5 separate regions of the Homo sapiens genome follow, and regions 1, 2, 3 and 5 are each linked to region 4. The links are contacts of gene promoters, found by promoter capture Hi-C in blood cells and fetal thymus (Javierre and others, 2016). All regions are on one chromosome and are shown on one strand. The core of a region is centred on a gene start or on the middle of the fragment in contact, and the rest is flanking DNA. Distances in the headings are between cores, read along the strand shown. Region 1 has its middle 9.1 kb from the start of AP1M2. Region 2 overlaps OLFM2 (olfactomedin 2). Region 3 overlaps ILF3 (interleukin enhancer binding factor 3). Region 4 holds the start of ICAM4 (intercellular adhesion molecule 4 (Landsteiner-Wiener blood group)). Region 5 has its middle 4.3 kb from the start of ILF3-DT.

What was found. The method cuts DNA at HindIII sites, captures the fragments that hold promoters and counts their contacts. A CHiCAGO score of 5 or more calls a contact.
Region 1: a fragment that was not itself captured here is called in contact with the fragment with the promoter of ICAM4 in region 4 in 1 of 17 cell types (monocytes); the score reaches 5.5 in monocytes.
Region 2: a contact is called between a fragment that was not itself captured here and the fragment with the promoter of ICAM4 in region 4, in 1 of 17 cell types (total B cells). The highest score is 6.7, in total B cells.
Region 3: a contact is called between a fragment that was not itself captured here and the fragment with the promoter of ICAM4 in region 4, in 1 of 17 cell types (activated CD4 T cells). The highest score is 5.7, in activated CD4 T cells.
Region 5: a contact is called between a fragment that was not itself captured here and the fragment with the promoter of ICAM4 in region 4, in 1 of 17 cell types (M0 macrophages). The highest score is 6.8, in M0 macrophages.

Annotation. Positions count from the first base shown.
Region 1 is chr19:10,594,320-10,598,514 of GRCh38, reverse strand. It overlaps the pseudogene LSM2P1. Among named protein-coding and RNA genes, the nearest start is that of AP1M2, 9.1 kb to the right of the region's middle. RefSeq lists an enhancer at 2,683-2,872. The HindIII fragment of the contact is 3,363 bases long and covers 1,075-4,195 here.
Region 2 is chr19:9,923,908-9,928,191 of GRCh38, reverse strand. The region is part of intron 1 of OLFM2 (olfactomedin 2); the gene reads left to right. Among named protein-coding and RNA genes, the nearest start is that of OLFM2, 10 kb to the left of the region's middle. The HindIII fragment of the contact is 4,021 bases long and covers 1-3,380 here.
Region 3 is chr19:10,678,150-10,682,229 of GRCh38, reverse strand. It overlaps ILF3 (interleukin enhancer binding factor 3), which reads right to left. Exons shown (of 20, transcript NM_017620.3): 6 at 3,526-3,617; 7 at 3,038-3,133; 8 at 2,303-2,414; 9 at 1,787-1,884; 10 at 1,100-1,211; 11 at 901-1,011; 12 at 38-237. Among named protein-coding and RNA genes, the nearest start is that of QTRT1, 21 kb to the left of the region's middle. The HindIII fragment of the contact is 7,906 bases long and covers 1-4,080 here.
Region 4 is chr19:10,283,993-10,288,469 of GRCh38, reverse strand. ICAM4 (intercellular adhesion molecule 4 (Landsteiner-Wiener blood group)) reads right to left here and starts at 1,515. Exons shown (of 3, transcript NM_001544.5): 1 at 1,064-1,515; 2 at 632-934; 3 at 1-484. The coding sequence starts at 1,457. The coding sequence ends at 366. ICAM1 (intercellular adhesion molecule 1) reads right to left here. Exons shown (of 7, transcript NM_000201.3): 4 at 4,150-4,437; 5 at 3,813-4,067; 6 at 3,442-3,687; 7 at 1,855-3,355. The coding sequence ends at 3,183. It overlaps ICAM4-AS1 (ICAM4 antisense RNA 1), which reads left to right. Exons shown (of 1, transcript NR_186335.1): 1 at 1-2,669. RefSeq lists enhancers at 1,388-1,527, 874-1,843, 1,898-1,947. The HindIII fragment of the contact is 2,558 bases long and covers 1-1,870 here.
Region 5 is chr19:10,647,590-10,651,495 of GRCh38, reverse strand. No RefSeq gene overlaps it. Among named protein-coding and RNA genes, the nearest start is that of ILF3-DT, 4.3 kb to the left of the region's middle. The HindIII fragment of the contact is 1,612 bases long and covers 1,515-3,126 here.

The DNA of each region.
Region 1 (4,195 bases), core at 1,507-4,006, 310 kb before region 4:
GACTCTGTCTCAAAAAAAGTTTTTTAAAAAGGACTGTTTCATTCCGGGCTCAGTGGTCCCATACGTGCAGTTGCCAGCAAAGGAGGTCGACACACAGTTGCCATAGCATGCAGCAAGGAAGAAAGCCAGCAGTAGTAAGTGACAGCCCCTCCTTCTCTTCCCTTCCCTCTTCCTTGGTGACCTGTAACTCCAAGTCCCAGCCCAGGACCCCTAACTCCCAATACTTGAAGGGGTTTTGTTTGTTTTTTTACTAATGATGGTTTTGTGGGTTTTTTTTAAAAAAGGGAAGAGTGGATAAGGGGAATAATAGGGAACAGGTATCCTTTGTTGAGAAAGGGAGAAGAGGTAGGCTGGGAAACTCCAAAGCCTTCCCAGTCCCCAGCACCTGCCGTTCTCACTACCTCCCTGGAGATGGTGGGAGGGAGGGCTTCCTAGGTCTTTCCAGGGTACCATGTGATTCACCTGGGGGTTGAAAGGAATCTGTCCCATATTGGGAATAACATTTATGATGCAAATATATATGTGTGTTTGTATACATAATAAATAAAAAAGTTACATTTCAAAATGAGAATTTTTAAAATAGTTTAAGAAAAAAGGTGGTGGTCCTGCAGATTATAATAAGAGTGACTGTTTACAGCCAGGAGTGGTGGCTCACATCTGTGATCCCAGCACTCTGGGAGGCAGGAGGGTCACTTGAGGACAGGAGTTCAAGATTAGCCTGGACAACACGATGAAAATCTGTCTCTAAGGCCAGACGCAGTGGCTCTCACCTGTAATCCCAGCACTTTGGGAGGCCGAGGCGGGCGGATCACCTGAGGTCGGGAGTTCGAGACCAGCCCGACCAACATGGAGAAATCCCGTCTTTACTAAAAATACAAAATTAGCCGAGTGTGGTGGCACATGCATGTAATCCCAGCTACTTGGGAGGCTGAAGCAGGAGAATCACTTGAACCTGGGAGTCAGAGGTTGCAGTGATCCAAGAGTGCACCATTGCACACCAGCCTGGGTGACAGAACGAGACTCGGTCTCAAAAAAAAAAAAAAGGAAAGAAAGAGTGAATGTTTATAGAAAGCTTAGTCAGTGTCAGACAAGGTATTAAATGCTTTATATATTTTTTTAACTCTTTTTCTTTTTTTTGAAATAGAGACCAGGTCTCATTAGCCTCAATCGATCTGCCCATCTTGGCCTCTTGAAGTGCTGGGATTACAAGCATGAGCCACCATGCTGGCCAAGCACCTTTTTTTTTTGAACCAAGGCTGCTGGAGGGCAGTGGCGCGATCTTGGCTCACCCAGTAAAGTGCTCTCTGTGTGTGTATGTGTGTGTGTGTGTGTGTATATAGTTGTTGTTGTTTGTTTTAGTTTTTGAGATGGAGTCTCACTCTGTCGCCAAGCTGGAGTGCAGTGGCGTGATCTCAGCTCACTGCACCATCTGCCTCCCGGGTTCAAGCAATTCTCCTGCCTCAGCCTTCTGAGTAGCTGGGATTACAGCACCCACCACCACGCTCAGCTAGTTTTTTGTATTTTTAGTGAAGAACGGGTTTCACTGTCTTAGCCATGATGGTGTCAATCTCCTGACCTCATGATCCACCGCCTCGGCCTCCCAAAGTGCTGGGATTACAGGCGTGAGACACCGCGTCTGGCCCAAGCACTCTGTATTAAATCATTATAATCATTTTCCAATTGGGGAAAGTGACCCAGAGAGGTGAAGTAATTTACCCACAGTAACATAATGAGCCCGTGGCTCTGCAAGGATCTGAACCCAGGGAGTCCGACTTTACACCCAAGACACACTTCCTTCCCCTTCAACCACATGCTTTCCGGAGTAGCGTCCAGGTCATATTGTTGAGTGATAATAGCAAGTTGTATTTTTTTTTTTTTATTTAAGACAGAGTCTCTCTCTGTCGCCCAGGCTGGAGTGCAGTGGTGCGAGCTCAGCTCACTGAAACCTCCTTCTCTTGGGTTCAAGTGATTTGTGTGCCTCAGCCTCTGGAGTAGCTGGGATTTCAGGTACGCACCACCATGCCCAGCTTAGTCTATATACATATATATATATATATATATAGTTGTTGTTGCTTGTTTGTTTTGTTTTGTTTTGTTTTTGAGACAGATTCTTGTTCTGTCACCCAGGCTCGAGTGCAGTGGCATGATCTCGGCTCACTGCAACCTCTGCCTCCTGGGTTCAAGCAATTCTCCTGCCTCAGCCTCCCGAGTAGCTGGGATTACAGGTGTCCGCCAGCATACCTGGCTAATTTTTTGTATTTTTAGTAGAGACAGGATTTTATCATGTTGGCCAGGCTTGTCTCAAACTCCTGACCTCAGGTGATTCACCTGCCTTAGCCTCCAAAGTGCAGGGATTACAGGCGTGAGCCACCACACCTGGCCAGTTTTTATATTTTTAGTAGAGACAGATTTTTTGCCATGTTGCCCAGGCTGCTCTTGAACTCTTGGCCTCAAGTGCCCCACCCGCCTCTGCCTCCCAAAGTTCTGGGATTACAGGTGAGAGCCACTGTGCCCATCCACAAGTTGTATAGTCTTATATGGTATGGGAGAAAGAGAGAGAAAGAGGGCAACACGCGCACACACACACACACACACACACACACACACAAACACACACACACACCCCCCTGCATGTAACCCAGCTGAAAAAGATCTGAATCAGCCAGTGGTTATGAGAGGGACGAAGATTGGGGTATGGGGGTGTCACAGGGGACTTTTTTTTTCTTTTTCTCTCACATCTCTGCTGGGAGGAACTTTTGCCTTTTCTTTAGTTTTGTTTTCTATTTTGTTTTCTCAGGAACTGGCTCAGCACAGTATTTTCTTAAGATAGGTTCTTGCTTTGTCACCGAGGCTGGAGTGCAGTGGTGCAACCATAGCTCACTGCAGCCTCAATCTTCTGGGCTCCAGTGATCCTCCCACCTCAGACTCCTGAGTAGCTGGGCATGGTGGCTTACACTTGTAATCCCAGCACATTGGGAGGCTGAGATGGGTGGATCACTTGAGGTCAGGAGTTTGAGACCAGCCTAGTCAACATGGCGAAACCCAGTCTCTACCAAAAATACAAAAATTAGCCCAGCGTGGTGGCAGATGCCTGTAATCCCAGCTACTTGGGAGGCTGAGGCAGGAGAATCACTTGAACTAGGAGAAGGAGGAGGTTGCAATTAGCTGAGATTGCGCCACTGCACTCCAGCCCCTGGGCGACAAAGTGAGAATCCGTCTCAAAAAAAAAAGAAAAAAAAGCTGGGCGCGGCGGCTCACGCCTATAATCCCAGCACTTTGGGAGGCTGAGGCAGGCACATCTCCAGGTCAGGAGTTCCAGACCAGCTTGGCCAAGAGACCAGCCTGGCCAATATGGCGAAACCCTGCCTCTACTAAAAATACAAAAATTAGCCGGGTGTGGTGGCAGGCACCTGTAGTCCCAGCTACTCGGGAGGCTGAGGCAGGAGAATGGCATGAACCCGGGAGGCAGAGCTTGCAGGGAGCTGAGATCGTGCCACTGCACTCCAGCCTGGGCAACAGAGCGAGACTCTGTCTCAAAAAAAAATAATAATAAAATAATAAAAGTAAATGAATAAATAAAATATAAAAAAATAAAATTAGCTGGGCGTGGTGGGGGGCGCCTGTAATCCCAGCTACTCAGGAGGCTGAGGCAGGAGAACTGCTTGAACCTAGGAGATGGAGGCTGCAGTGAGCCGAGATTGTGCCACTGCACTCAAGCCTCGGTGACGGTGAGACTCCATCTCAAAATAAATAAAAAAAAGAAAAGAAGAAGAAGAAGGAGGAGGAGGAGAAGGAAAAGGAGAAGAAGAAGAAGAAGAAGAGTGGGTGCCAGGGGTTGGGAGAGGGAGAAGGAGTGTTTCATAGGGAGAAGTTTTCCTTTGGGAAGATGAGAAAGTTCTGGAGATGGATGGTGGTGACGGTTGCATGGCCATTAATGTGCTTAATGCCACCGAACTGTGCACTTCAAAATGGCTAAGGTGGCCAGCTGTGGTGGCACGTGTCTATAGTCTCAGCTACTTGGGAGGCTGAGGTGGGAGGATGGCTTGAGACAGCAGGAGAGGAACTGAAATTCGGGCAGTTAGGGTGTCTGGGACAGCAGGTTCAGGTGGTGTCCTGTGGCAGAGGTCAGCAGGTGTCTGACTGTGCCAGGTGGGGGTGGTTGGAGGGCAATGGGGGGCCATAGAGGATGTGAGAG
Region 2 (4,284 bases), core at 121-2,620, 360 kb after region 4:
TTGACCAGGCTAGAGTGGAGTGGTGTGACCACAGCCCACTGTAGCCTCAACCTCCTTGGCCCAAGTGATCCTCCTACCTTAGCCTCTCAAATAGTTAGGACTACAGGTGTGTACCACTACATCCAGCTAATTTTTCTCTTTCTTTTTCTTTTTTTTGGTAGAGATGGGGGTCTCACTATGTTGCCCAGGCTGGTCTTGAACTCTTGGCCTTAAGTGATCCTCTTGCCTCAGCCTCCCAAGGTGCTGGGATTACAGGCATGAGCCACAGGGCCCAGCTAATTTTTGTATTTTTAGTAGAGACAGGGTTTCACAATATTGTTCAGGCTGGTCTCGAACTCCTGACCTCAAGTGATCCGCCTCAGCCTCCCAAGGTGCTGGGATTACAGGCATGAGTCACTGCACCCGGCCCACATTGTTTCTGTTCCTAATTTCTCTAGTAATTTCTATGAGAAAGACACTGATAGAGGCACTCACTCACTCAGGAGGGACGTGACACAGTCCGCTCTGAATGGCTGTCAGTTGCCAAATTTGGGAGACAGATGCAGCCGACACATGGTACAAAGTGCCAGATGTCAAGAGTCAAGTGGGCTTCCTGGGGGAGGTGGCATTTGAGATGGGCCTTGAAGGATGAGCGAGTGAAGACTGGAGGGTGGACACAGAAGAAAGTCATTGGTCATGCTGACAAGACCTGGTGGGTTTACCCTTATTTTACATGATTCTAACCATGTTTAAAAGAGGGGAAGTTTCTGGAAATGGGAACTAGGGTAAGTGTGTGGTTGATGCCTATGGTGGGTGCAGATAGGAGAAGGGAAGTGAGCTTGAAAAGGTTGTGATCTGACTGTAAAGGCTTCGAAAGCTGGGTTAAGGATTTTAGAATTTATTTATTCATTTATTTATTTATATTTTTTTCGAGACAGAGCCTCGCTCTGTCGCCCAGGCTGGAGTGCAGTGGTGCGATCTCAGCTCACTGCAACCCTCCCCTCCCAGGTTCAAGCAATTCTCCTACCTCAGCCTCCCAAGGAACTGGGTTAACAGGCGCGTGCTACCACGCCTGGCTAATTTTTGTATTTTTAGTAGAGACAGGATTTCACCATGTTGGCCAGGCTGGTCTCAAACTCCTGACCTCGTGATCTGCCTGCCTCGGCCTCCTAAAGTGCTGGGATTACAGGCGTCAGCCACCGTGCTGGACCTTATTTATTTATTTTTAGAGATAGAGTCTTGCTCTGTTGCCCAGGCTGGAGTGCAGTGACGCGATCACAGCTCACTGCAGCCTCAAACTCCTGTGCTCAGGCAATCCTCCCACCTCAGCCACCTGAGTCACTGGGACCACAGGCGTGTGCCACCATGCCCACATAATTTTTTTTGTTTATTTTTTGTAGTGACAGGGTCTCACTATATTGTCCAGGCCGGTCTTGAACTCCTGGGCTCATAAGATCTTCCTGCCTCAGCCTCCCAAACTGCTGGGATTACAGGCGTGAGCCACTGCACTTGGCCTAGAATTTAGTGAGCTGGTAATAGTGACTCATAGAAGAGGTTGTGCATGTTTAAATGGAAGACTTTAAAAATTTTTAATTGTGGTAAAATACACATAATATAAAATTTATCACTTTAGTCATTTATTTATTTATTTATTTATTTTTGAGATGGAGTCTCGCTCTCTGTCCCAGGCTGGAGTGCAGTGGCGCGATCTCAGCTCACTGCAAGCTCCGCCTCCCAGATTCAAGCGATTCTCCCATCTCAGCCTCCGGAATAGCTGGGACTACAGGCGGCCGCCACCACGCCCGGCTAATTTTTTGTATTTTTAGTAGAGATGGGGTTTCACCATGTTAGCCAGGATGGTCTCGATCTCCCGACCTCGTGATCCGCCCGCCTCAGCCTTCCAAAGTGCTGGAATTACAGGCGTGAGCCACCATGCCTGGCCTAGAATTTCCATCCTTTTAAAGGCTGAATCATATTCCATGTATGGATATACCACATTTTGTTTATCCATTCATTCATCAATAAATAGACACTGGGTTGTTTTCAGCTTTTTTTTAAAAAAAAGTCTTAATGTTACAGAGGAGGTCTCTCTCCATCACTCAGGCTGGAGTGCAGTGGCACCATCACAGCTCGCTGCAACCTCTATCTCCTGGGCTCCAGGGATCCTTCCACCTCAGCCTCCCAAGTAGCTGGGACTACAGGTGCATGCCACCACGGCTGGCTAATTCTTAAATTTTTTCTGTAGAGATGGGGTCTTGTCATCTTGCTCAAGCTGGTCTTCAACTCCTGGCCTGAAGCAATCCTCTCACCTCAGCCTTCCAAAGTGCTAGGATTACAGGTGTGAGCCACCGCGCCCGGCCTGGTTGTTTTCACCTTTGGGCTTTTTTGAATAATACTGCTATGATCACGGGTGTACCAATATCTTTTTGAGACACTGAGTTCAATTCTTTTGTGTACGTATTCAGAAGTGGCATTGCTGGGCCAGGCGCGGTGGCTCACACCTGTAATCCCAGCAATTGGGAGGCTGAGGTGGGTGGATTGCTTGAGCCCAGGAGTTTGAGACCAACCTCAGCAACATGGTGAAACCGTGTCTCTACAACAAATACAAAAATTAGCTGTGCCTGTGGTCCCAGCTACTTGGGAGGCTGAGGTGGGAGGATTACTTGAGCCCAGGAGGTCAAGGCTGCAGTGCGCCATGATTGTACCATTGCCTGGGTGACAGGGTAAGATCCTGTCTCAAAAAAGAAAAAGTATTGCTGGGTCATATGGTAACTATGTTTTAAGTTTTTGAAGAACTACGATAATGTTTTCTACGGCGACTGCGCTATTTTACATTCCCACAAAGGGTTCCTATTTTTCCACATCCTCACCAACACTTGCTATTTTTGTCAAAAGCCTCTGACCACAACGTTTTTGTCAACTGAATAATATATAACTTTTTTTGTTTTGTTTTGTTTAGACAGGGTCTCACTCTGTCCCCCAGGCTAGAGTGCGGTGGTGTGATCTAGGCTCACTGCAGCCTCCGCCTTCCGGACTCAAGCCATTCTCCCACCTCAGCCTCCCAACACGCTGAGTAGCTGGGACTATGCACCGCCAGGCCTGGCTAATTTTTTGTAGAGCTAGGATTTCACCATGTTGCCCAGGCTGGTCTCCAACTCCTGGGCTCAAACGATCTGCCTGCCTCAGCCTCCCAAAGTGCTGGGATTACAGGCATGAGCCACGGCGCCCAGCCATAACTTTGTTTTATGTGTGTTTCTGTTTTAGAATATCATATATATATATCAATCATATCTATATATATACACGCATATATATATATATATCACATATATATTTATTTTTTGATTCATTAACATTGAACTCCCGGCCAATAGCACTAGATCTGATGCCTGAATGAAGCTTCTGTAACACGTCTTTTCTCCGTGACACACGTCACGGCCTTCTTGACTTAGAAACACTAGACTACACTTCAGCACGGTGCGTGGGGGCCACTGAAGATAGCAGAGTCACCAACAAACAGCACAAAAATATGAAAAGCTTGGCACTAAATGGACCATAAAAAAGACACTTGCATGTAGTATCAGAGCTGGAGGAAGAAAGCAGAGTGTCTCCTTATTAGACCTCAACAGGGTTGGGTGACTGAGTATGTTGTCAGGCCGGGAGCAATGGCTCACGCCCATAATCCCAGTGCTTTGGGTGGCCAAGGCGGAAGGATGGCTTCAGCCCAGGAGTTCGAGACCAGCCTGGGCGACAGAGCGAGACCTCCATTTCAAAAACAATTTTTTTTTTTTTTTTTTTTTTTTTTTGGAGACAGAGTCTCGCTCTGTCGCCCAGGCTGGAGTGCAGTGGTGTGATCTTGGCTCACTGCAAGCTCCGCCTCCCGGGTTCACGCCATTCTCCTACCTCAGCTTCCCGAATAGCTGGGACTACAGGCGCCCGCCACCACGCCCAGGTAATTTTTTTGTATTTTTGTAGAGACGGGGTTTCACCGTGTTAGGATGGTCTCGATCTCCTGACCTCGTGATCTGCCTGCCTTGGCCTCCCAAAGTGCTGGGATTACAGGTGTGAGCCACTGCGCCCGGGCTTTTTTTTTTTTTTTTTTTTTTTTTGTAGAGACGAGGTTATTGCTCTGTTGCCCAGGCTGAAATGCAGTGGTACGACCTCGGCTCACTGCAACCTCCACCTCGTGGGTTCAAGTGATTCTTGAGCCTCAGCCTCCCGAGTAGCTGGGATTACAGGCACACACCACCAAGCCCGGCTAATTTTTGTATTTTTAGTAGAGATGGGGTTTCGACATGTTGGCCA
Region 3 (4,080 bases), core at 1,483-3,982, 390 kb before region 4:
TCTGCTATTAGAAGACAGTGATGCTGGCCACACTCACCTTAACGGCCACGTGCAGCTTGGCCGTCTTTTTGGAGGGCCCAGAGGCCTCGAATGAATTGCCATCAACCTCCACAGACATGGTAAAGATGGGGGCATGGACGGGCCCAGTCTGGGACACCAGCTTGTACTGCAGCCCTGGCTTCAGCTGGTTCAACCGCATCAGGGCATTCATAGCCTGGGGGGGCTCTGCCTTCTCCTCTACAGAGAGAATAGCAAGGTGGCTCTGGATCAGCACGATGGCAGGTCTCCACGAGAGCTCTGCCAATCCTAACCCCCAGGGCTGCCTCTGTGGCGTAACACAGTGGGTGGGGCAGCCACACAAACTGAGCCCAGCTTGCACCTCTCCTGTGGCCTCCAGCTGTAGCACCACCATCCTACTCATCTTCCACATCCCCAATCATGCCTCATCATTGTTAAAAGGACTCAGAAATCACAAGTGAGAAAAATGAAACAAAAGCAGCCATCCCATAGCTTCAGGGTGAGCCTTCACAGGACCAGATGGATAAAGCAGCAGCACTAGTGGAGGTCTGCACCTTCCTGCTTTTTTACCTATTTAGCTTCTAAAATTTTTCAACACTGATTTTAAGCAAGGTCTCGCTCTGTTGCCCAGGCTGGAGTACAGTTGCTCACTGCAACCTCCGCCTCCCAGGCTCAAGCCATCCTCCCATCTCAGCCTCCCAAGTAGCTGGCACTACAGGTGCGCCACCACACCCAGCTAATTTTTGTATTTTTTGTAGAGACGGGGTTTCGCCATGTTGCCCAGGCTGATGGTCTCAAAACTCCTGAGCTCAAGCGATTCTCCCGCCTCGGCCTCCCAAAGTGCTGGGATTACAGGCGTGAGCCACCGCGCCCGGCCTGTACCTTTCTTCTGAATCTTCTTCTTCTTTTTGCTGGGCGACTTCTCCTCCCCGTCCTCCTCCATTGGGCGTTTCATGGGCGTAATGGCATAGGTGGTGCTTGGTGGGATCTGAACTGCAAGGAGAGACCAGGGCATGGCTGGGAGATGCAGATGGTGACTCTTCCTGGAGCCCCAGCCATCAGGCAACCGCCGCAGGCTTACCGGTGTAGTCCACTGGGTTTTCATTCTTTGGTTTCTTGGGCATCTTGGAAGGCAGAGGGTCCATGCCTAGGACTTTATGGAGCTGGCCGAAGGCAGCGAGCCGCAGTGCGTGCTGGAGAAGGGGAAGAGGCTCTGACTCAGCTGCCCTGTGCTCCCGGCCATGGAGTGTGTGCTCACTACTGCCTTCTGAGGAGGGGCAGAGCTGAAGGGCTGCTAATGGTCTCCCTTACGACAGCAAGGGGTCCCCCACCAGCCAGGGGAGAGCCTGACTGCTCAAGCCCAGCCTTGCTGTGGGGGAAGGCCAGCCTGTGACCACCCCCCTTCCAAAGGAATACAGGAGACCCCAACCTGGGGACTGGTTGCCACACGGAGCCATGTGGGGGCCTGCAGGGGAAGGTCCCCCCGGAGCAGTCCGCACAGCAAACACATCTCCCAGCACCACTCACAGTGTCTGAAAACGGCACTCGAGCAAGCCAAGGGAGGGGGCAGATGAAAACCACGCATGGCACCAGGGGAAAGAAGCAGCCCAGATTGGGGCGCCCTGTATCAGACACAATCCTTTTGCCTTCAGTCCCCGACCTGAGCCTACGAGTCCAGGGGCTACCCTGGGAATACCCAGTAATGGAACTGGAAGCCAGTGATTACAGACTGGGTCAGGGCGCACGTTGGCAATGGCGATGACTATACCTGCGCACTCTGTGTGATATCTTCCCGTTGCTGTCTGTCTAGATGCCCAATAGCATCAGTGGCTTCTTTTTCACAAGGGTCATAAATGCCAGAACCATCTGAAGGCAGGAAACAAGGAAGATATGCAGAGGATTATCTTTTAGCATCTCTGAAGAGGTGTGCTGGCTGAGGGAACTAGGTGTGTTACCCCCCGCGCCCCATCCACACCCAGCTCTGGAAAACATGCCTAGCTCGGTGACCCACTCGGCGTCCAGCCCTTGACAGAAATAATTCACAAGTGTCTCAGAGCAAGAAAGTCACGTGGGAGTGGGTCACCACTGCCCCGGATCCGCCCTCTGAATGACGGCTGCGGACCCGGTCAGGGCTGGATATGATGGTGCCAGAGGGTAGTCACATGCTTCAGCTCTAGGGGGTGGACACGGGGCTGCTGCTGTCCTAACCCAGTCAGTGTACCCGCCAGGAGGCGGCCTGGAACCCTGTCCTTTCCCTGCAACCTGCAAAGCACAAGGCCCCAACCTGGCATCACGATGCCCGACGCCAGGCACTCCAGCACTCTCCGCAGGGCCTCGCCAGCACCCATCGGTCTGTTGGCCGTGCCAATGGATTTCTCACACAGGAGCTCGAGAGGCTGAAAGGGAAGAGGGACAGTGAGCCAAGAGCCTACAGGATGGGGCCGGCCGCCACTGGGGAGCTGTCACTGCATGAGTGGGTCGGGGCACACGTGGGACTCATAGCCAACCAGTCGGGTAAAGTCAAAGCCTCAGGGCTAAGCCTGAGCCAGGGCATCTAGGACAGGGGCCTTCAAGGACCAGACATGACATCCTAGCAGGCTGTGTGAGCTCAGAGACCAAGCTAAGGTTATGATGTAGTACTTCTTACTTAAAATCTAACCATTTATTTACAAATATAAAAACCACCTCAACTGCAAGCTGAAAAAAAAAAGGGTGCAACTGCCAAAAACTGGTCCTGCGTGAGACTATCTACAAACCTTCCCAGAGGGATCATTCCCACCTCCTGGTCAGCCCCCACTCCTGGGATTGAGCTGTGCGACCCTGCAGAGGGCCCCGACCCACACTGCCCCAACCCCAACCCCAGGTGTGGCAAGCAGGAGCAGCTCCACAGGCAGCTCTGGAGAGTACACACCAGCCACGCGTCAAGAGGCCACTCCTGCCCCGTGACCATCAAGTGTTCCTGGGATATCCAAAAGACTCTGCACACACCACCCCCAGTAGCCACAGCAACATGCCTTACCCAGCCTCGGAGGGGACCCCAGGTGGGCACGCGAGTGCACAGGTCCCTCAAGACCCGGATCACAATGACACAAGACTTCAGCCCGTTGGCTCTGGCCTAGGGGAACAAAACACAGGCTCTTCAGTCTGAGGCACCGCCCAGGGCACAAGTCAACATGAACGACACAAGTGTCAGGTTGCTGCTTTGCCAAGGGTAAACAGTCAACACTGGCGACCACCAAGGCTGTGGCCAGCCGCAATGTCACTACGTGTACAAGAGAGTGTTACTCTTAACACAAAGCAGCAGCAGCAGCAGCAGCCCACCAACTCAGTCTCAGCCTCTTTTGGGGTCGAATTTGTTGAGGTGCACTCCTTTAGGACCTGCGCAGCTGCAGGTGCTAAGCTCGGCACGGCTATCGTCAATGTTAAGGAATCTTTATGGTGACAGTTAGCCAAGTTAAAACTTAGGAATTCTCTACCAAAAGACAAATAGAAGAACAAAATGCAAACCTGGAACCACTTGGCGTGTCGGAGGGACGCCAAGGCAGCAAGGCATTTCTGCCTGTCCAGAACGTCCGGGGGGTCGTTGACTGATAGCGTTTCTATTCATGGATGGAATAAGAAGACAAGGCACAGTTTGACCAAGGGGTTTCTGTCAGGTGGAAAGGGGATGTGGCAGCTTTCTAAAGGGCAGCTGAGTTTCCCAGAAGCTGAATTCATCTCCACCCTGGACCAGGGAAGGAGAAACTAGAGCACATTCAACTCTGCCCTGTGAGGAAATTGTAAAAATTGGAGGCCCCCTCCAAAAATAAAAAGAAAAAGAAAAAAGAAAGAAAAAGAAAAAATAAAACAAACATAAAAACAAAAGTGGGGAGTTATTCTAAAAGGAATAATCTCATGAGGGAGGGGAGAGATAGGTGGAGCCTATCTTCTAATCCTCTTCCCTTGCCTCCTCCCCATGTTCTCCCAATAAATTAGCTATGCTAAAATGTTCAATAGGAAAAAATTTAAAAAGGCCGAGGGAGAGGAAATGAACTCCCTCTCTGCATCACACAACAGCCATCC
Region 4 (4,477 bases), core at 266-2,765:
TTTTATTTTTATTTTATTTTTGGAGACAGGGTCGTGCTCTGTCCCCCAGGCTGGAGTGCAGTGGCACGATCAAGGCTCACTGCAACCTCGACTTTCAGGGCTCAAAGGATCCTCCCAACTCAGCCTCCCGGGTAGCTGGGACCACAGGTGCGGGCCACCACACCAGGCTAATTTGTGTATTTTTTGCATAGACGGGGTCTCACTATGTTGTCCAGGCTGGTCTCGAACTCCTGGGCTCAAGCGATTCTCCTGCCTCGGCCTCCCAAAGTGCTGGGATTACAGGCGTCAGCCACCATGTATGGCCATTTCCCCAGATTGTTTCATATTCCTCTTTTTCTCGCTCAGCCGGCATAGAACATCCCCCTTTACGCCTGGGACTTCATAGCTAGGCACTTGCATAGGTACGCAGCGCCCACAGTGAGGAGGATCCCTACAAGGGCAGCGATGGAACCGGAGGCCAAAGCTGTGGGCGCGGGGCTCCAAGCTGGGAGCAGAAGGCGAGAATTAGGAACGGAACACAGGGAGGTCTGTCGACCCGCGTGGAGCTCACGCTTGGTCTGTGCGCCCTCTCGGGGTCATAACTCTCTCTGCCCCCTTCCTCCTAGTCCCCAGGGTTACAGGGGTGCCTCACCGAGCATCAGTGTAATGGGTGCCGAGCTGTTGCGGACCACCAGGCCGTCGAGATTGAGGCGCGCGTGGCAGATCACGGGCTGCCAGAAGTCGCGGGGTCCAGCAGCAAACTCGTAGGTCAAGGTCACGTTGGCCAGATCCAGGCCGGTGAAGCGCTCCAGGCTTTCGGAATAGATGACCCGGCTTCCATGCCTCAGGGTCACCACCAAGTAGCCCACCGGGAACACCTGCGTCACGTGGCAGCGCAAAGTGTATTTCCTGCCCTTTAAGACCGGAGGCTCCAAAATCACGCTGTGGGGCGGTTCTAAGGCAAGGGGGAGCCTCTGAGTGAGGTCCGCGGGCGCTCCCTATAGAGCGACTGTCAACTACCCTTCCCCCACCTCTTCCAGCCCCCTCCCCTCACCCCAGCCGGGACCGAGCCCCTGTCCCTCACTGTAGGCGGTGATCCTGGAGGTGGCCCAGCGTGTTTTTCCTGCGCAGGTCACGAGGCAGTGCGCGAGGGAGCTCCAGGCCCTCACGTCGAGCAGCTGGTAAGACACCCAACCCGGCCCTCTGAGCGTCTTGCCTTGCCGCAGCGGGGTGCGGAGGCTGGAATTCTGCGGCTGGGGACAGCTGTTGCTGCAATTGAGCTGCACTGACTTCCCCGGCTGCACAGCCACGAACTCCGGGCTCATGCGCACCCAGAAGGGCACTGAGGTCCCGGAGGGCGCGAGAGGGCTACCCTTGGGGCTTTGCGCCCGCTTAGTCCGGCGTCCCAGCGCGCTCCCAACTCCCGGGTAGGCGGCCGCCAAAAAAAACAGCAGCGACAGAGGGAACAGAGACCCCATGGCAAAAAGCCCGGACTAAGGGGCCCCGCGCCAGAGAGCCAGGGCCGGCTCTAGAGATAAGGAGGCCCGCAGCCCCGCCTCCTCGACTCCACCCTGGAGAGGAAGGGGAGGCCCCAACAGAGGGCCCGGGAGTACTGCAAAAAGGGATTCCGCTCCCCAGGTCAAGAATAAGATTCCAGGCCTCATTAGAAACCAAATGTTTTTTTCTGGAGAGGAGTCTTTAGTTTTCACTAGAGACCCAGAAGGTCATAGAAAGTCCGATTTGGACCAGAACCTCAGGGTATGGCCATCAACCCACAATGTTTTCTTGGGGGAGGAAGTGGGAGGATCAGGCTGTGGCTGCTTAGAAAGGACTCCAGCTGGATGTGACACCTCCCCTCAACTCACACAAGGCTGAGGCAGTTGAGAAAGCTTTATTAACTAACACAAAGGAAGTCTGGGCAATGTTGCGAGACCCCGTCTCTGGAAAAAAAAAAAAAATCAAATTTGCCAGGTGTGGTGTTGTGAGCCTATGGTCCCAGCTACTCAGGAGGCTGAGGTGGGAGGATCACTTGAGCCCAAAAGGTCAAGACTGCAGTGAACCATGATTGCACCACTGCACTCCAGCCTGGGTGACAGAGCGAGAGCTTGTCTACACATACACACACACACACACGCGGATGAGGCTTCCAAAGCTGGGAGGGAGTCCTCCAATACCTTGGCCCCCTTCCCCACTGCTTGCAGGACCCTGATCACTGCAGGAAACTGGAGCTGCATAGTGCAAGCTCCCAGTGAAATGCAAACAGGACAAGAGGACAAGGCATAGCTTGGGCATATTCCCTGGGCACTCATGTCCAGACATGACCGCTGAGTGTCATTGTGAACACTGGCAGAAATGTATGTGGGTGGGGAGGTGGCTAACAAAGGTGTCAGTTTTGGGGGGAAGGGAGGAATAAGGCCTCACTGGGTAATCTCTGAACCTGTAACCATTACCAGTCCATATAGTGCTTTTGTGCCGATAGAAAAATCACTCCTTCTGGGGAAAGGCAGGTTGGCCAATGAGAAGTCCCAGCCCCATTTGATCTTTTTGCCAGGCACTCTCCTGCAGTGTACAACCTGTACAACTGTACCTGGTGACCTTGAATGTGATTAGGACTGGGAGCTCCGTGAGGCCAGAGACCTATGTTCATTTAGCCTACATAAAAGACACTCAATAAATAGCTGGTAAAATAACAAATGAATAAATACATATCATCAAGGGTTGGGGTCAGTAGACAGCAGTGCCCAAGCTGGCATCCGTCAGGAAGTGTGGGCCTTTGTGTTTTGATGCTACACATGTCTATGGAGGGCCACTTCTTCTGTAAGTCTGTGGGGCCTCAGCATACCCAATAGGCAGCAAGTTTCAGTATTTCCCAGTTGTATGTCCTCATGGTGGGGCTATGTCTCCCCCACCACTTCCCCTCTCATCAGGCTAGACTTTAACATCCATCAATCATGTCTTGAGTCTTGCTCCTTCCTCTTGGCTTAGTCATGTGACTACAGATCAGATGCGTGGCCTAGTGTTTTAGGTGTGCAGGTACCATGGCCCCAAATGCTGTTGTATCTGACTGAGGACAATGCCCTGTCCTCCGGCGTCCCAGGGCCGGTAGGTGTAGCTGCATGGCATATGTCTTCCACTCTGTTCAGTGTGGCACCACTGCCACCAATATGGGAAGGCCGAGGAAGAGGCCCTGTCCCGGGATAGGTTCAGGGAGGCGTGGCTTGTGTGTTCGGTTTCATGGGGGTCCCTTTTTGGGCCTGTTGTAGTCTGTATTTCTTGATCTTCCGCTGGCGGTTATAGAGGTACGTGCTGAGGCCTGCAGTGCCCATTATGACTGCGGCTGCTACCACAGTGATGATGACAATCTCATACCGGGGGGCTGTGGGGAGGATACAACAGGCGGTGAGGATTGCATTAGGTCCATGGCCCCTGCCCCCACCCAGCTCTGCCCGCCGGCTCACTCACAGAGCACATTCACGGTCACCTTGCGGGTGACCTCCCCTTGAGTGCTCCTGGCCCGACAGAGGTAGGTGCCCTCAAGATCTCGAGTGACAGTCACTGATTCCCCGATGGGCAGTGGGAAAGTGCCATCCTTTAGACACTTGAGCTCGGGCAATGGGTTCCCCCAAGCCTGGCACATTGGAGTCTGCTGGGAATTTTCTGGCCACGTCCAGTTTCCCGGACAATCCCTCTCGTCCAGTCGGGGGCCATCTGGAAAAACACGATGAGATGACATGGAGGTGGGTGGGGGCAGGACTTGGAGGCAAGACCTTATGGGACCTTCAGGGAGATTGGGCCTTGGGGGATAGGGGCCATTGACCAGCAGCCCCACTCACACAGGACACGAAGCTCCCGGGTCTGGTTCTTGTGTATAAGCTGGCCGGCCACCTCCAGGGTTGCAGAGCAGGAGAAGCTGCGCCCGTTGTCCTCTGGGGTGGCCTTCAGCAGGAGCTGGGCCCTCGGGCCCAGTGGCTGGGCTGGAACCCCATTCAGCGTCACCTTGGCTCTAGGGTGGGCCTCACACTTCACTGTCACCTCGGTCCCTTCTGAGACCTCTGGCTTCGTCAGAATCACGTTGGGCGCCGGAAAGCCTGGAATAGGCACACAGTGAGCCCCGCCCCGGGTTCAGGTCACACCCCCAAGAAGCCCCACTCCGCCCCTGCCCCTTCTTACTGTAGATGGTCACTGTCTGCAGTGTCTCCTGGCTCTGGTTCCCCAGTATTACTGCACACGTCAGCCGCTGGGTGCCCTCGTCCTCTGCGGTCACACTGACTGAGGCCTTGGCCGAGAAGGAGTCGTTGCCATAGGTGACTGTGGGGTTCAACCTCTGGTCCCCCAGTGCCAGGTGGACCTGGGCCTCCGAGACTGGGAACAGCCCGTCCAGGGAACAGACCACGGTCCCCTGCGTGTCCACCTCTAGGACCCGGGGGCTGACAAGTTGTGGGGGAGTCGCTGGCAGGACTAGGGAGAGAAGAAAGGTGTGAGCAGACAGGGATGGACG
Region 5 (3,906 bases), core at 1,071-3,570, 360 kb before region 4:
TTTACATTTTACTGTGGATTTTTAATAGGTAGCATAGTCACATGATACGTCAAATGTGCCAAAGACGCCGGGCGCGGTGGCTCACGCCTGTAATTCCAGCACTTTGGGAGGCTGAAGTGGGCGGATCACGAGGTCAGGAGATCAAGACCATCCTGGCTAACACAGTGAAACCCCGTCTCTACTAAAAATACAAAAAAAAATTAGCCGGGCGTGGTGGTGGGCATCTGTAGTCTCAGCGACTCGGGAGGCTGAGGCAGGAGGATGGCATGAACTCGGGAGGCAGAGGTTGCAGTGAGCTGAGATCGTGCCATTGCACTCCAGTCTGGGCGACAGAGTGAGACTCCATCTCAAAAAAAAAAAAAAGTGCCAAAGACATGAGAGCACAAAGTCTTCCTCAGACATCCAGTTCCCTCCCTCTTAGAAGCCATTGTACAGTTTTGTTTTTTGTTTTTTGTTTTTGAAACGGAGTCTTGCTCTGTCTCCCAGGCTGGAGTGCAGTGGCACGATCTTGGCTCACTGCAAGCTCCGCCTCCTGGGTTCACGCCATTCTCCTGCCTCAGCCTCCCGAGTAGCTGAGACTACAGGCGCCCACCACCACGCCCGGCTAATGTTTTGTATTTTTAGTAGAGACTGGGTTTCACCGGGTGAGTCAGGATGGTCTCGATCTCCTGACCTCGTGATCCACCCGCCTCGGCCTCCCAAAGTGCTAGGATTATATGCGTGAGCCACCGCGACCAGCCATTGTACAGTTTTTTGTGTAACTACAGTAGAGTTTTATTTTCAGAGGTGCATAATCATATTCTTGTTTTTCACATAAATTGATAAGTTATTCTGCACCAGGCTTTTTAATTTCATTTCCTGTGCCTCAGATCTGTCTCACAAATAGAGCTGGAAATTGAAGAAAGGTTTGGTAAGATGATTGGGGCATGCACTAAGATAAAATTGGTTAAAATGCCAGGGCATGGTGGAACACACCTGTAGTCCCAGCTACTCAGGAGGCTGAGGTGGGAGGATCATTTGAGCCCAGGAGGTTGAGGCTGCAGTGAACTGAGATTGGGCCACTGCTCTCTAGCCTAGGCAACAGAAGCCCTGTCTCAAAAAAACAAAAACAAAACCAAAAAATTGGTTAAAGCTTTAAATTGTTGAAGGTCACTGTGATAATAACGAATGTTAATAACAAAGCCTAGACTGGCTTTTTTTCGGAACAGGTCAGTTTTAGTGACTTGCTTGAGCTAACAGCACTGCCAAATGGCAGAACGAGGATGGTTACTAGTTTTCTGACTCCCAACTCCAGAGAGCCTAAGGTTACTTAAAACGCTTTTGAAGATCTCATTCCGCTAAGGCGTTTCTTGCCCCAGGGACCCCAAACACAGTAAAGGGCGGATAGGGTCATGATGACAAGCACAGTCTTTGGATCAAACCCAAACCTCCTAGGGTTTGATTTGGAGGAGGACTGATTCGGAGTTAATTCAACATCAAGGGGTTGCTTCAGTACCTGGCATGGAGTTAAAGCTTCAAAAACAGTAATGGTTATGATTGTTACCTCTTGAACGGGTGCCCCATCCAACCAGAACTTCCTGAAAAATGTTGTCTTGGCCAGGCATGCTGGCTCATGCCTGTAATCCTACACTTTGGGAGGCTGAGGCAGGGGGATTGCTTGAGCCCAGAAGTTCAAGACCAGTCTGGGCAACATAGTGAGACCCCATCTCTATGTTTTTTATCTATCTATCTATTTATTTATTTTTGAGATGGAGTCTCGTTCTGTAGTCCCAGCTAGGGTGCAGTGATAACAATCTCAGCTTACTGCAACCTCCAATTCCCGAGTTTAAGCAATTCTGCCTTAGCCTCCCAAGTCACTGGGATTGCAGGCGTACACCACCATGGTCAGCTAATTGTTGTATTTTTAGTAGAGACTGGGTTTTGCCATGTTGGCCAGGCTGGTCTCAAACTCCTGACCTCAAGTTATCCACCCACCTTGGCTTCCCAAAGTGCTGGGATTACAGGCATGAGCTACTGCACCCAGCCCCATCTCTACATTAAAAAAAAAAAAAGTTTTCAAGAATAAAAACAAAAAGAAGGCTGGGGGCAGTGGCTCATACTTGTAATCCTAGCACATTGGGAGGCCGAGATTGGTGGATCACTTGAGGTCAGGAGTTCAAGACCACCCTGGCCAACATGGTGAAACTCTGTCTTTACTAAAAGTACAAAAAGTAGCTGGGCATGATGGCTGGCATCTGTAATTCCAGCTACTCGGGAGGCTGAGGCACGAGAATCGCTTGAACCTGGGAGGTGGAGGTTGCAGTGAGCCGAGATCAAGCCACTACAGTCCAGCCTGGGTGACAGGGAGACTGTGTCTAAAAAAAAAAAGAAAGGGCCAGGTGTGGTGGTTCACCCTCTAATCCTAGCACTTTGGGAGGCCGAGGCGGGTGGATCACTTGAGGTCAGGAGTTCGAGACCAGCCTGGCCAACATGGTGAAACCCCATCTCTCCTTAAAATATAAAAAATTAGCTGGGCGTGGTGGTACGCACCTGTAATCCCAGCTACTCGGGAGGCTGAGGCAGGAGAATCACTTGAACCCAGGAAGCGGAGGTTGCAGTGAGCTGAGATTGCACCATTGCACTCCAGACTGGGGGACAAGAGTGAGACTTCGTCTCAAAAAAAAAAAAAAAGGAAAAAGAAAAAAATTTTTTGAAGTAAAAAGTTTTCAGCCCAACTTTCCAATAAACCCCATCCATCAGGTTCCTAGTCCCTGGTCACCGTAAAGGATGGAAGACACAAGATGCCATCTGCCCTGTCTTGCTGAACTGCTACCCTGACCCGACCTCGCACCTCTGCCCTTGTCCTTCCACCACTCAGTGGTCACAAACCCTGTATACAACACCATTCTCTCCTCCTTGCCTTAGTGACATCATCTGTCATCTGGCTATTCCTTCTCTCTTCCCTCCCTCCCACTCATTGGTTGAAGATTGAGGTCATCCCCCTCTTGTAATCTGTCAGTCTAGACAGGTCCTGTCACTCTCAGTGACTCTGCTGTCCTTACAGCCTCTCTATTCATTGTCTTCCTCATCTTGAAAGATTCCACCCACTCTCCCAATCACACCCAGTTAACTTCCCTCTCGAAAGCTTTTTGTCCTATGCCTGTTCCCTTCTTGCCCCCCCCCAGGGTGGACATGGGTGACCACTCTGGGATGGACACTGTGGGATGACCACAGTTGTTGGGGAACCATTCCTCTCCCTTGATCAAACTGTAGTCTAGATGGCAGGTCCCTGCTGCCTGACTCCCAAACTAGGCCCACACCTTGACTACAATGATTGACTCAATGATTTACAATGAGTAAATGATCATAATCAGGCTGGTCAGAGTCAGTGAGCTCCAGGCCTGAGACTTAGGAGCAAGAAAAGACTTTTCTGGCCCTCTAATCCCAACACTTTGGGAGGCCGAGGTGGGTGGATCAAGAGTTCAAGAGTTCAAGAGCAGCCTGGCCAAGATGGTGAAACTCCATCTCTACTAAAAATACAAAAATTAGCCGGGCATGGTGGCGGGCTCCTGTAATCCCAGCTACTCGGGAGGCTGAGGCAGAGAATTGCTTGAACCCAGGAAGCGGAGGTTGCAGTGAGCCAAGATCATGCCACTGCACTCCAGGCTGGGCGACAGAGCGAGACTCCGTCTCAAAAAAAGAGAAGACTTCTCATCTTAAAGCCAGGAAAATGTAGCTGCGTGCGGTGGCTCATGCCTGTAATCCCAGCACGTTGGGAGGCCAAGGCAGGCGGATCATGAGGTCAGGAGATCGAGACCATCCTGGCTAACATGGTAAAACCCTGTCTCTACGAAAAATACAAAAAAATTAGCCGGGGGTGGTGGCGGGCAGCTGTAGTCCCAGCTACTCAGGAGCTGAGGCAGGAGA